Linked DNA regions of Homo sapiens: region 1 is linked to region 2. Evidence: promoter capture Hi-C in human tissues and cell types (Jung and others, 2019). All regions are on one chromosome and are shown on one strand. Each heading gives the region's core, a stretch centred on a gene start or on the middle of the fragment in contact. The rest is flanking DNA. Distances are from core to core; before and after follow the strand shown. Region 1 overlaps SNTB2 (syntrophin beta 2). Region 2 holds the start of WWP2 (WW domain containing E3 ubiquitin protein ligase 2).

The links. The method cuts DNA at HindIII sites, captures the fragments that hold promoters and counts their contacts. A contact is called where the count stands out against the background at its distance.
Region 1: a fragment that was not itself captured here is called in contact with the fragment with the promoter of WWP2 in region 2 in 1 of the 25 tissues and cell types used here (aorta).

What each region holds. Positions count from the first base shown.
Region 1 is chr16:69,222,874-69,228,191 of GRCh38, reverse strand. All of the region lies in intron 1 of SNTB2 (syntrophin beta 2), which reads right to left. Among named protein-coding and RNA genes, the nearest start is that of SNTB2, 38 kb to the right of the region's middle. The HindIII fragment of the contact is 3,089 bases long and covers 668-3,756 here.
Region 2 is chr16:69,760,352-69,765,717 of GRCh38, reverse strand. It overlaps WWP2 (WW domain containing E3 ubiquitin protein ligase 2), which reads right to left and starts at 3,386. Exons shown (of 24, transcript NM_001270454.2): 1 at 3,327-3,386. RefSeq lists silencers at 2,910-2,959, 2,980-3,139, 3,160-3,299 and an enhancer at 3,003-3,581. The HindIII fragment of the contact is 7,232 bases long and covers 1-5,366 here.

The DNA.
Region 1 (5,318 bases), core at 963-3,462, 540 kb after region 2:
ACTAACTTTACCAAGTAACTGAGATGTTAAAGAAGCTTAACTAATAAAAGTAAACTGTTTAACAGTGTCTGAAAGACATTAGGCACTGAACATAACCTACAGAGTGAGCTTATTATGTACTATATCACTAAAGAATATCTAGACGTGGTAATTAAGATATCTCCAGAAAAGCTGGGCATAGGGGTGCACACCTGTAGTCCAAGCTACTCAGGAGGCTGAGAGGGGAGAATCGCTTAAGCCCAGGAATTTGAGGCTGCAGTGAGCTATGATCATGCCACTGAACTCCAGCCTGGGTGACAGAGTGAGACCCCATCTTACTTATCTTAAAAAAAAAAAAAAAAAAAAAAAAATCCAGAGAAACAGCAAGCTAACCATTCTTTGTCTCCCCTTCAGGAAAGGACCAATTTTTATAGAATATAACCTTCCTCATCTATATTCCTCTAACACTCTACATATCACTGACATGGCATCCGCCATATGTCACAGTTTTTGTTTTGTCTGTCTTGTCCACTTGACCAATGGGACACTGAAGGGATTAAAACTCAAGACACTATAAAAGTCAACAATAATTACAACACATCACTTCTACAGAGTTTATTCATAGTTTTTTAAACTTTTTTCCTAGTCACCCTTCAGAACTGTGTTGCGGTTTGTGTAGAGCCATTAGGCCTTGAATACATTATTTTGCACATTCATAAGGCAAAATTCATGTCTTTTTCCAGTTACACCCAATATTTCTGTGACAGTGGCTTGAAATTAATTATAGTTGCTTCTAACCTCTTAAAGCAAGGTGAACCCCACTCTATATGGCATCACTGTAACAATACGCATACAAAGGTGTAGCACAAATAAATTTTATACATTGGTCAAAAATTGTCAGTGCATTGAGAAACAGTTCATAGCTGGAATCACTAATGCACAGAAGATGTACAGTCAATATTGATTAGATGAATTATGAGAGATTCTGCACAAATACAGATATACTTTTACAGTCCTAATTTGTCTGTCCTAGTGAAATTCTCAGAAATATTTCTGGCATGAGTAACACAATTCAGTTAAATGTTGTTGCTAATTGCTCTAGATTAAGGATTCTTGCAACTGTTTGAATAAAAGGCCCTTGGTCAGCCCCACTATGTGCTTGTGAATATTTGGGAAATGGTCACTCTCTCCATATACTGAAGGTTGTCACATAGACTCTATATGTATAATCTTATCTGCTGAGGGGTTAATTCAGCTAAATTTCTTATTAAAACAAACCTGCCATAAAAGCAAAATTCTCCTTAGTAAACAATTATAAGCTTAAACAAATGGCTTCTGAATGAGCAGTTTGCTCCTGCAGTAACATAAAAACATAACCTTAGGGCCATGCACCATGGCTCACACCTGTAATCCCAGCATTTTGTGAGGCCAAGGCAGAAGGATTGCTTGAGCCCACAAGTTCAAGACCAGCTTGGGCAACATAGCGAGACCCCGTCTTTACAAAACAATTTAAAAATTAGCCTGATGTGGTGGCATATGCTTGTAGTCCCAGCAACTCAGGACACTGACGTGGGAGGACTGCTTGAGCTTGAGAGGTTGAGGCTGCAGTGAGCCACAATCCCACCACCGCACTCCAGTGTGACAGTGGGAGACCTTGTCTCAGAGAAAAGCAAGAAAGATAAATGAAGTCTTATCTATCATAAGGAGCCAATAATGGATTAAAATATTCTTATTAGAAAGTCAGTCCTTGCCTCAGGAACCCAACATATAGGGTTTTATCTATTGCTAGCACATATGATAGGAAACAAAGTTTTTTTTTTTTTTTTACTCTTAAGAATCATAGGGTGGGCATGGTGGCTCACGCCTGTAATCCCAGCACTTGGGGAGGCCGAGGCAGACAGATCACCTAAGGTCAGGAGTTCAAGACCAGTCTGGCCAACATAGTGAAACCCTGTCTCTACAAAAATACAAAAATTAGCTGGTCATGATGGCGGGTGCCTGTATTCCCAGCTACTTGGGAGGCTGAGGCGGGAGAATTGCTTTAACCCAGGAAGCAGAGGTTGCAGTGAGCCGAGATCACGCCATAGCACTCCAGCCTGGGCAACAGAGTGAGACTCCTTCTCGAAAAATCAAAAAACAAAAAACAGAAGAACTGGGCATCTCATGCCTTTAATCCTAGCACTTTGGGAGGCCGAGGCGGGCAGATCACTTGAGATCAGTAGTTTGAGACCAGCCTAGCCAACATGGTGAAACCCCATGTCTACTAAAACTACAAAAATTAGCCAGGTGTGGAGACGGGCGCCTGTAATCCCAGCTACTCAGGAGGCCGAGGTAGGAGAATCACTTGAACCCAGGAGGCGGAGGCTGCACTGAGCCGAGATCACATCACTGCACTCCAGCCTGGGTGACAGAGTGAGACTCCGTCTCCAAAACCAAAAAGAGCTACAATGTTCCCCCCTTTTCAACAACTCTCTCCTATGTGCAAAGCACGTGGATCTTTAAAATGTTTGACACACAAATCTTGTCCTCAAGTTATTTACTTGAGGAATAAAAGGAAGACATGTGTCCCCTAAAATAGGCCAACTAATAAAGTAGAAATTATAATAAGGCAAAACATGATACATGCTATAGAGGTGTAAATACAATGTTACACATAATTGGATGTAACAGCAGCAAATAAAATAAAATCACTGAAAAATATAAAAATACTTACTAATGTTTTTCCACTAGACAACAAAACTTCCACGAGACAACGAAATTTCCACTAGACAACAACAAAAAAACCATAGCAATTCAAGCGCAAGGAAATCGTTATCCGTATTTTTGTTGCTAAGTGGATATGTTCTGGACTAGCTGGATAAACCGGATGCTTTGTTTTAGATCAGCACCCTGAATGATAAACTATAGACGGAAATACAATATTAACCCAGCACAATAGCTGTGTTCAAAGGGTCAGCAACCACTCCATCCTGAACATCCAGTTAGAGTCACCACTTAGGAACAAGAAAGTCCTCCAAGTTTCCATGTCTTTAAATACTTGGTAATTTTCTTTTCTCTTTTTTGTATAAAAGAAATCCTGTAAGTTACTGCCAGGCCTTCATTGTTATTAGAGCTTTTCAGACCAAATAGGCAGAATTAACTGAGTTCAGGGAAAGAGAAAAGACAAAGATGTCTTCGTGTTCTTTCCCTCTTCATTCTTACATAACACATACTAATGAATTCCACTGTAGTAAACTCAGAACCGTCAGAGTTAATAGCAATCAACTACTGCATGTTAAGTAATATTGTGTGACACTGGTCAACCCACATACTGTAACTTTATCTGCTGATAATTTGTTTTATTAATTTTCTTAATGAAAAAGTAATAAAAACAAAAGCTGGAACAATTTGAGCATCAAAATAAGTAACAGTAATACAGGATTATAACCCACAGAATAAAATAAATATCCAAGAGTCCACAATAATATAAATAATGTAATAAATACATAAATGGAGGAGAAGGGCCAGCTCTTTCTTACAGAAGAATTCTCATTAGTAAGTGTAGTAGGCATGAGATAAATAGAAAATCATCATTAAAACACTATAGTAATCATTGTTGCAGGCAAGATCCAATGATTTATGCTAAAATTACTGGGCAAAAGTTTAAAGAATAACTGTGTGTTTGCATAATCTCACCATATTTTCCAAGATACTTATTAATTACAAAGGAAACAGTGGCTCACGCCTGTAATCCCAGTACTTTGGGAGGCCAAGGCAAGCGGATCATGAGGTCAGGAGTTCGAGACCAGCCTGGCCAACATGGTGAAACCCCGTCTCTACTAACGATACAAAAAATCAGCCGGGCGTGGTGGCGCGAGCCTGTAATTCCAGCTACTAGGGAGGCTGAGGCAGGAGAATCGCTTGAACCTGGGAGGCAGAGGTTGCAGTGAGCCAAGATCGCACCACTGCACTCCAGCCTGGGCAACAGGGCAAGACTCCGTCTCAAAAAAAAAAAAAAAAAAATTGCAAAGGAAAAATAGTAACTTTATGTGGAGAAACATGACAGTAATCAAGGTTTATATGACTAGATTAAGAAATATTGAAGTCATATCCCACCCCTGCCCAATATGATACACTGAGAATGATACATCACTTCTCTGGTTTCCTTCCCAAGAATGAGTAACCTCCATATATTCATGATGAAATAAGACAAACCCAATTGAGGGACATTCTACAAAACCACTGACCAGTATTCTTCTAAAGTGTCAAGGTCATAAAAGAAAAGACAAGACTGAAGAACTGTCGGCCGGGTGTGGTGGCTCACGCCTGTAATCCCAACACTTCGGGAGGCTGAGGCGGGTGGATCACGAGGTCAGGAGATCAAGACCATCCTGGCTAACACAGTGAAACCCCGTCTCTACAAACAAAATACAAAAAACTAGTCGGGCATGGTGGCGGGCACCTGTAGTCCCAGCTACTTGGGAGGCTGAGGCAGGAGAATGGCATGAATCCAGAAGGCGGAGCTTGCAGTGAGCCGAGATTGGGCCACTGCACTCCAGCCTGGATGACAGAGCGAGACTCCGTCTCAAAAAAAAAACAAAACTGTCACAGATTGGAGGAAACAAAGGAAACATGACAACGAAGTGTAATGTGGGATCCTGGAACAGAAAAAGGACATTACTGGAAAAATGGGTGAAAACCATAAAGAGACTGTAGTTTAATAATATCATACTAATGTTGGCTGGGTGTGGTGGCTCATGCCTGAAATCCCAGCGCTTTGAGAGGCTGAGGTAGGTGCATTACCTGAAGTCAGGAATTGGAAACCAGCCTGGCCAACATGGCGAAACCTTGACTCCACTAAAAATACAAAAATTAGCCAGGCGTGGTGGCTGGGGCGCCTGTAATCTCAGCTACTTGGGAGGCTGAGGCAGGAGAATCGCTTGAACCCAGGAGGCAGAGGTTGCAGTGAGCCAAGATCACACGACTGCACTCCAGCCTGGGCAACAAGAGCAAAACTCTGTATCAAAAAAAAAAAAAAAAAATTCTTAGTTTTGATAATGGTTATGCAAGATGTTAACATTCGGGGAAACTGGAAACTCTGTATTATTTCTATAACTTTTAAGTCTAAAAGCAAAAGAATTGTAAGTAATAAGAACAAAACGGCTGGGCGCAGTGGCTCACAAGTACTTCAGGAGGCCGAGGCAGGTGGATCACCTGAGGTTAGGAGTTTGAGACCAGCCTGGCCACTGTGGTGAAACCTCATCTCTACTAAAAATAAAAAAAAATTAGCTGGGCATGGTGGCATGTGCCAGTAATCCCAGCTACTCGGGAGGCTGAGGCAGGAGAATTGCTTGAACCTG
Region 2 (5,366 bases), core at 2,137-4,636:
CGAGTAGCTGGAATTAGACACATGTGCCAACAAGCCCAGCTAATTTTTGTATTTTGGGTAGAGATGGGGTTTCACCATGTTGGTCAGGCTGGTCTTGAAATCCTGACCTCAAGTGATCCGCCCGTCTCAGCCTCCAAAAGTTCTGGAATTACAGGCGTGAGCCACCGCACCTGGCCAGGATCCTATTTAAACTGCAACCTACATCCCTCTTCCCTGCTTTATTACAACATAATACATATTATACTTAGTTATCAATGTGCCCTTCTCTAATAAAATTGAAGATCCACAAGGGTGGGGATCCTTACCTTTCTTGTACTGCTATATTCCTGGCATTCAGAACAGGTTTGTCCAATAGAAATAAGATGGGAGCCACAAGTGCAAGCCACATTTATAATTTTTTATTTTTCTAGGAAATACATTTTAAAAAGAAAAAAGTGCTGGGTTTCAAGTCAAGGTTAAGTGGGAAAAAAAAAGACAAAAAGGTGAAACTTTTTTTCTTTTTCTTTTTCTTTTTTTTGAGACAGGGTCTCACTCTGTCACCTAGGCTAGAGTGCAATGAGTGGCACGATCACAACTCACTGCAGCCTCCACCTCCCCAGGCTTGGGTGATCCTCCCACCTCAGCCTCCTGAGTAGCCAGGCGGGCGCCACTGCACCTGGCTAATTTTTGTATTTTTTGTAGAGACAGGGTTTCACCATGTTGCCCAGGCTGGTCCCAAATTCCTGGGCTCAAGCAATCTATCCACCTTGACCTCCCAAAGTGCTGGAATTATAGGCATGAGCCACCATGTCTGACCAACTATTTATAATTACGTTGTATTTAACCCAATAAATCCAAAATGTTATCATACATGTTTATACATTATATGATCGTTTACTATAACATAAAAAGTATCAATGAGACATTTTACTTTTCTTCATGCTAAGTCTTCAAAATCCAGAATGTATTTTATGCTCACAGCATAGCTCCAGTGCTCAGCAGCCCCATGTGGCTAGTGTACACCATACTGGACTCTACAACAATGCCTGGCAAAGACAGAGTGGGTACTTATAAATATTCACTGAATGAAAGAATGTTTTCCCAGGAAGAGGAAGCTATGGTAGAGTACAGCGTTTTCTAAACTTCATTTACTCACATTCTACATTCACAACTTTTTCTGTGTGATCTTTTTCCTTAAAATGTTACACTTTTTATTCCTGAAAAATTATGTAAAAATAAAACTTTCAGTTGGGCATGGTGACTTACACCTGTAATTGCAACACTTTGAGAGGCCGAGGTGGGAGGATCGCTTGAGCCCCGGAGTTTGAAAACAGCCCGGGCAACATAGCAAAACCCCTGTCTCTACAAAAATTAGCCAGGCGAGGTGGCACCCACCTGTAGTCCCAGCTGTTTGGGAGGCAGACATGGGAGGATCACCCGAGCCCAGGCAGGTCAAGGTTACAGTGAGCCGTGATTGTGCCACTGCACTCCAGCCTGGGCAACAGAGTAAGATCCTGTCTCAAAATAAAATAAAAATAAAATTTTCTATTGTGTCAATAAATGAAAAAGAATGGATCTAAGGATTAAGGGTCTGGGCTTGAGTCCCTACTCATTTACTAGCTCTGAAATCTAAAGTAAGGACTTCATTAAGCCTCAGTCTCTTCATGTGATATAGGGACAATACTGACCATCCCAATTTCAAAGGGAAGGTTAAGTGAGATGTTGGTATACGCTCTTTGTAAATGGGAAAGTAATCATGAAGTGAAAGAGACTGAGAAGCCAATCCAAGCCTTTCTCTCGAGCCTGTTTTCATATGGACCAATGACACAGATAATCACAAGCTTCTCTGACAAGAAAAAGAGTAGAAGACTTGGGTTCAAATCCTTTGTCACCACTTACGCCGGTGTGACTTTTAGAAATGCATTTATTCACCAAATATTTATCAAGTGCTCACAACATGCCAGGCACTAGGCTAGCAGCCAAATAAAATATGAAACCTGCCCTTGAAGGATTTGCAATCTAGCAGGAAGAGGCCAGCAAACAAGAAAGAGCAATAAATTGTTTTAAAAAATCAAGTCGTCTCTCGTAAGTCTGTTTGTTCCCTGTGAAATGAGAATACATCTTCCCAACCTCACTCATAGGCGCTGCTGCAAAAACTAATTTTTAAATGTTTGTCAAATAACTCCAAAAACTTGAACTCATAATACATTAGGAAAGTACTTTTTCCTACTTGTAACCCAAAACGATGCTGGCTGCTGTGAATGTCCAGTTTGAACATTCGTTCCAGTTACACTGCACTCATGAAACTCCTTTTGCTTCTGCAAATTTTAGTAAACATGAGAAACAGGAAGATGAACAGGCTTTAACACAAGTATTCAATCTCAAAATCATGATCCAGGTCACAGTTCTAAGGAACATAACACAGACCTCTCAGGCACCCTACCTAGTTACAGTTCGTCAAGATAAGCAGTCACAAGATAAGCTAAGGGAAACTGAATAATTTAAACGGAAGAAAGAGAAAAGTCATAAAGCAGTCTAGGTAGACACTTCTCTGTCCAAGATTTCAGCAGTCACTATGTTGCTGAGGTAACGCTGGGCTAGGTCAACAGTGTAAGCTAAAAGCCATTTTACAGGCAAAGTGCCCACACTTATTTTTTTAATTTATTTTCTTTTTTTGTTTTTTAAAGCCTCGATGATGGCCCGTTCAGGGAAAATCTCAAAGAAAAATGAGCTGAAGGGCTAGGCTCCCAAGAAGTGGAAACCCTACCCACGCAGGACTAAGTGGGCGCGAGGGAAGCAAGACGATCAAGATTCTGTGATCCCTCCTGAAGTTTAAAAACTGAATGGGACCGTCATCAAAGTCTCGGGTAACAATCATTTCCAAACAGGAAGGAAGGGAGAGACTCTCAGAGGGGGTCCAGGCAGCATCTTTTTCCCTCTGGCTCCACGCCATAAACCCATTTTCAGGCACCCCCTTCCAGCTCAGTTCCAAGTCGCCCCTTCCCCTGGTCCCGATCCCTCCACAAAGATCGCTCCTCTCCATGCCTGGGAACCTAAGCTCCTCTCCCCTTCCGGGAGGACTCGCTCCAGCTGCACCCTTGGCGGCCGGGGCACCCATTTCGGAGCAACCCCCGCGCGGGCCGCGGCGCGCCCACCCCACTCGGGCGGGAGCCGGGACACCCCTCCTCGGAGGCCGGAACCGCCGCGCCAGGCCCCTCCCACAGGAAGCCGCCGCCCCCCGACGCCCGGGCCGCGCCGCCCCCGGCCCACCCCGCGCCGCCCGCCGCCCCCGGCCCGCCCCGTGCAGGCAGCCAGCCCACCGCGCCCCCCGCGCCAGCGCTCGCTACCTGCCGTGGCCACAGAAGCGGCGCCGAACTCCTCTCCTACTTCCGCCTTCCACCGCCCGCACTCGGGCCGGGTCACGTGACCGCGCGCGGTCACCTGACCCGGAAGAGGCTGGCCAGGCTCGCAGGTGCGGGCCACCTAGGCCTGGCCTGGGCACCTCTGGCCTCGAGGAGGCCTTTTTATCGTCTCTGTAGTTGAAAGTGGAAGGGTTTCTGCTCACCGGATGGTCCCAGGCAATCAAATAAATTGAGGGCTCACTGAATGCCACCTACTCTGCCCATCAACCTTATAGAGGCAGGGACAGGTACTAGCCCCATTTTACAGGTGAAACGAGACCTTCAGACTGTTAAGTCAGCAAATACTTAATTGAGCTCCTTTAGTAGGGTTGCCAGATAAAGTACAGGACACCCACTTAAATTTGAATTTCAGATAAACAACAGTGTAATATGTATGTCCCAAATACAGAATGGGACATATTTATACTAAAAAAAGTATTTTTTGATTATCTGAAGATCAAATTGAATTGAGTATCTGTATTTCTATTTCCTGGCAACCTTATGCCTATTATGTGCCAGGCACTGTTCTAAGATCCAGGACCACAAACATCTCAGCCTTTGTGGGGCATCTGTCCTTGTGACATGAAGCAAAAGTACAAAAGCTTAAAAACTCCTGCTTGGCTCCATAAAAAGCCCCTCCACACTAATCCAATCGCATTCCCTTAATCTACAACTACAGGGCACAGAGAACTTAATGAATTATAATCCAGGTAGGTAGGTAGGTAGGTAGGTGGATAGATAGATGATATTTTTTTTTTTTTTTTTGAGATGGAGCCTCGCTCTGTCGCCCAGGCTGGAGTGCAGTGGTGCAGTCTCAGCTGACTGCAACCTCCGTCTCGCCGGTTCATGCAATTCTCCTGCCTCAGCCTCCCGAGTAGCTGGGATTACAGGCGTGCACCACCACGCCTGGCTAATTTTTGCATTTTTAGTAGAGACAGGGTTCCTCCATGTTGACCAGTCTGGTCTCGAACACCTGACTTCAAATGATCCGCCCACCTTGGCCTCCCAAAGTGCTGGGATTACAGGCATGAACCACCGCACCTGGCAGAGAAATATTTTTTTTAAGAGATGGGTCTGGATAGGTTGCTTTGGCTGGGCTCGAACTCCCAGCTTCAAGCAGTCCTCTTGCTTCAGCCTCCCAAGTAGCTGAGACTACAGGCGAATGCCACTGTGCCTGCCCAATAACTTTATTTATTTATTTATTTATTTATTTATTTGCTTGCTTGAGACAGAGTTTCACTCTTGTAGCCCAGGCAGGAGTGCAGTGGCTCAATCTTGGCTCACTGCAACCTCTGCCTCCCAGGTTCAAGCAATTCTCCTTCCTCAGCCTCCTGAGTAGCTGGGACTACAGGCACCCACCACCATGCCTGGCTAATTTTTGTATTTTTAATAGAGATGGGGTTTCACCATGTTGGCCAGGCTGGTCTCAAACTCCTAACCTCAGATGATCCACCTGCCTTGGCCTCCCAAAGTGCTCAGATTATAGGCGTGAGCCAATGCGCCCGGCCTCCAAGAACATTTTAAATAGACATTCTTGACTGATGTTCTGGACAAGTTGAATGAAGGCTCAGTTTAATCACCATTGATTAAAATTAATACTAATGACGTAATTAGCCTCAAAGACTTGTACTAATCTGTTATTTTTGGGTCTTCGAATTGGGATGGATTCTATCATGCATACAAATTAAATTGGCTGGTGGGGCGTGGAGGCTCACGCCTGTAATCCCAGCACTTTGGGAGGCAGAGGCAGGTGGATTACCTGAGGTCGGGAGTTCGAAACCCACTTGGCCAACCTGGTGAAACCCCATCTCTACTAAAACTACAAAAAAAAAAAAAAAAAAGATTCGCCGGGCATGGTCCGGGTGCGGGTAATCCCAGGTACTCCAGAACCTGAGGCAGGAGAATTGCTTGAACCCGGGAGGCGGAGGTGGCAGTGAGCCATGATAACGCCTCTGCACTCCAGCCTGGGCGACAGAGTGAGACTCT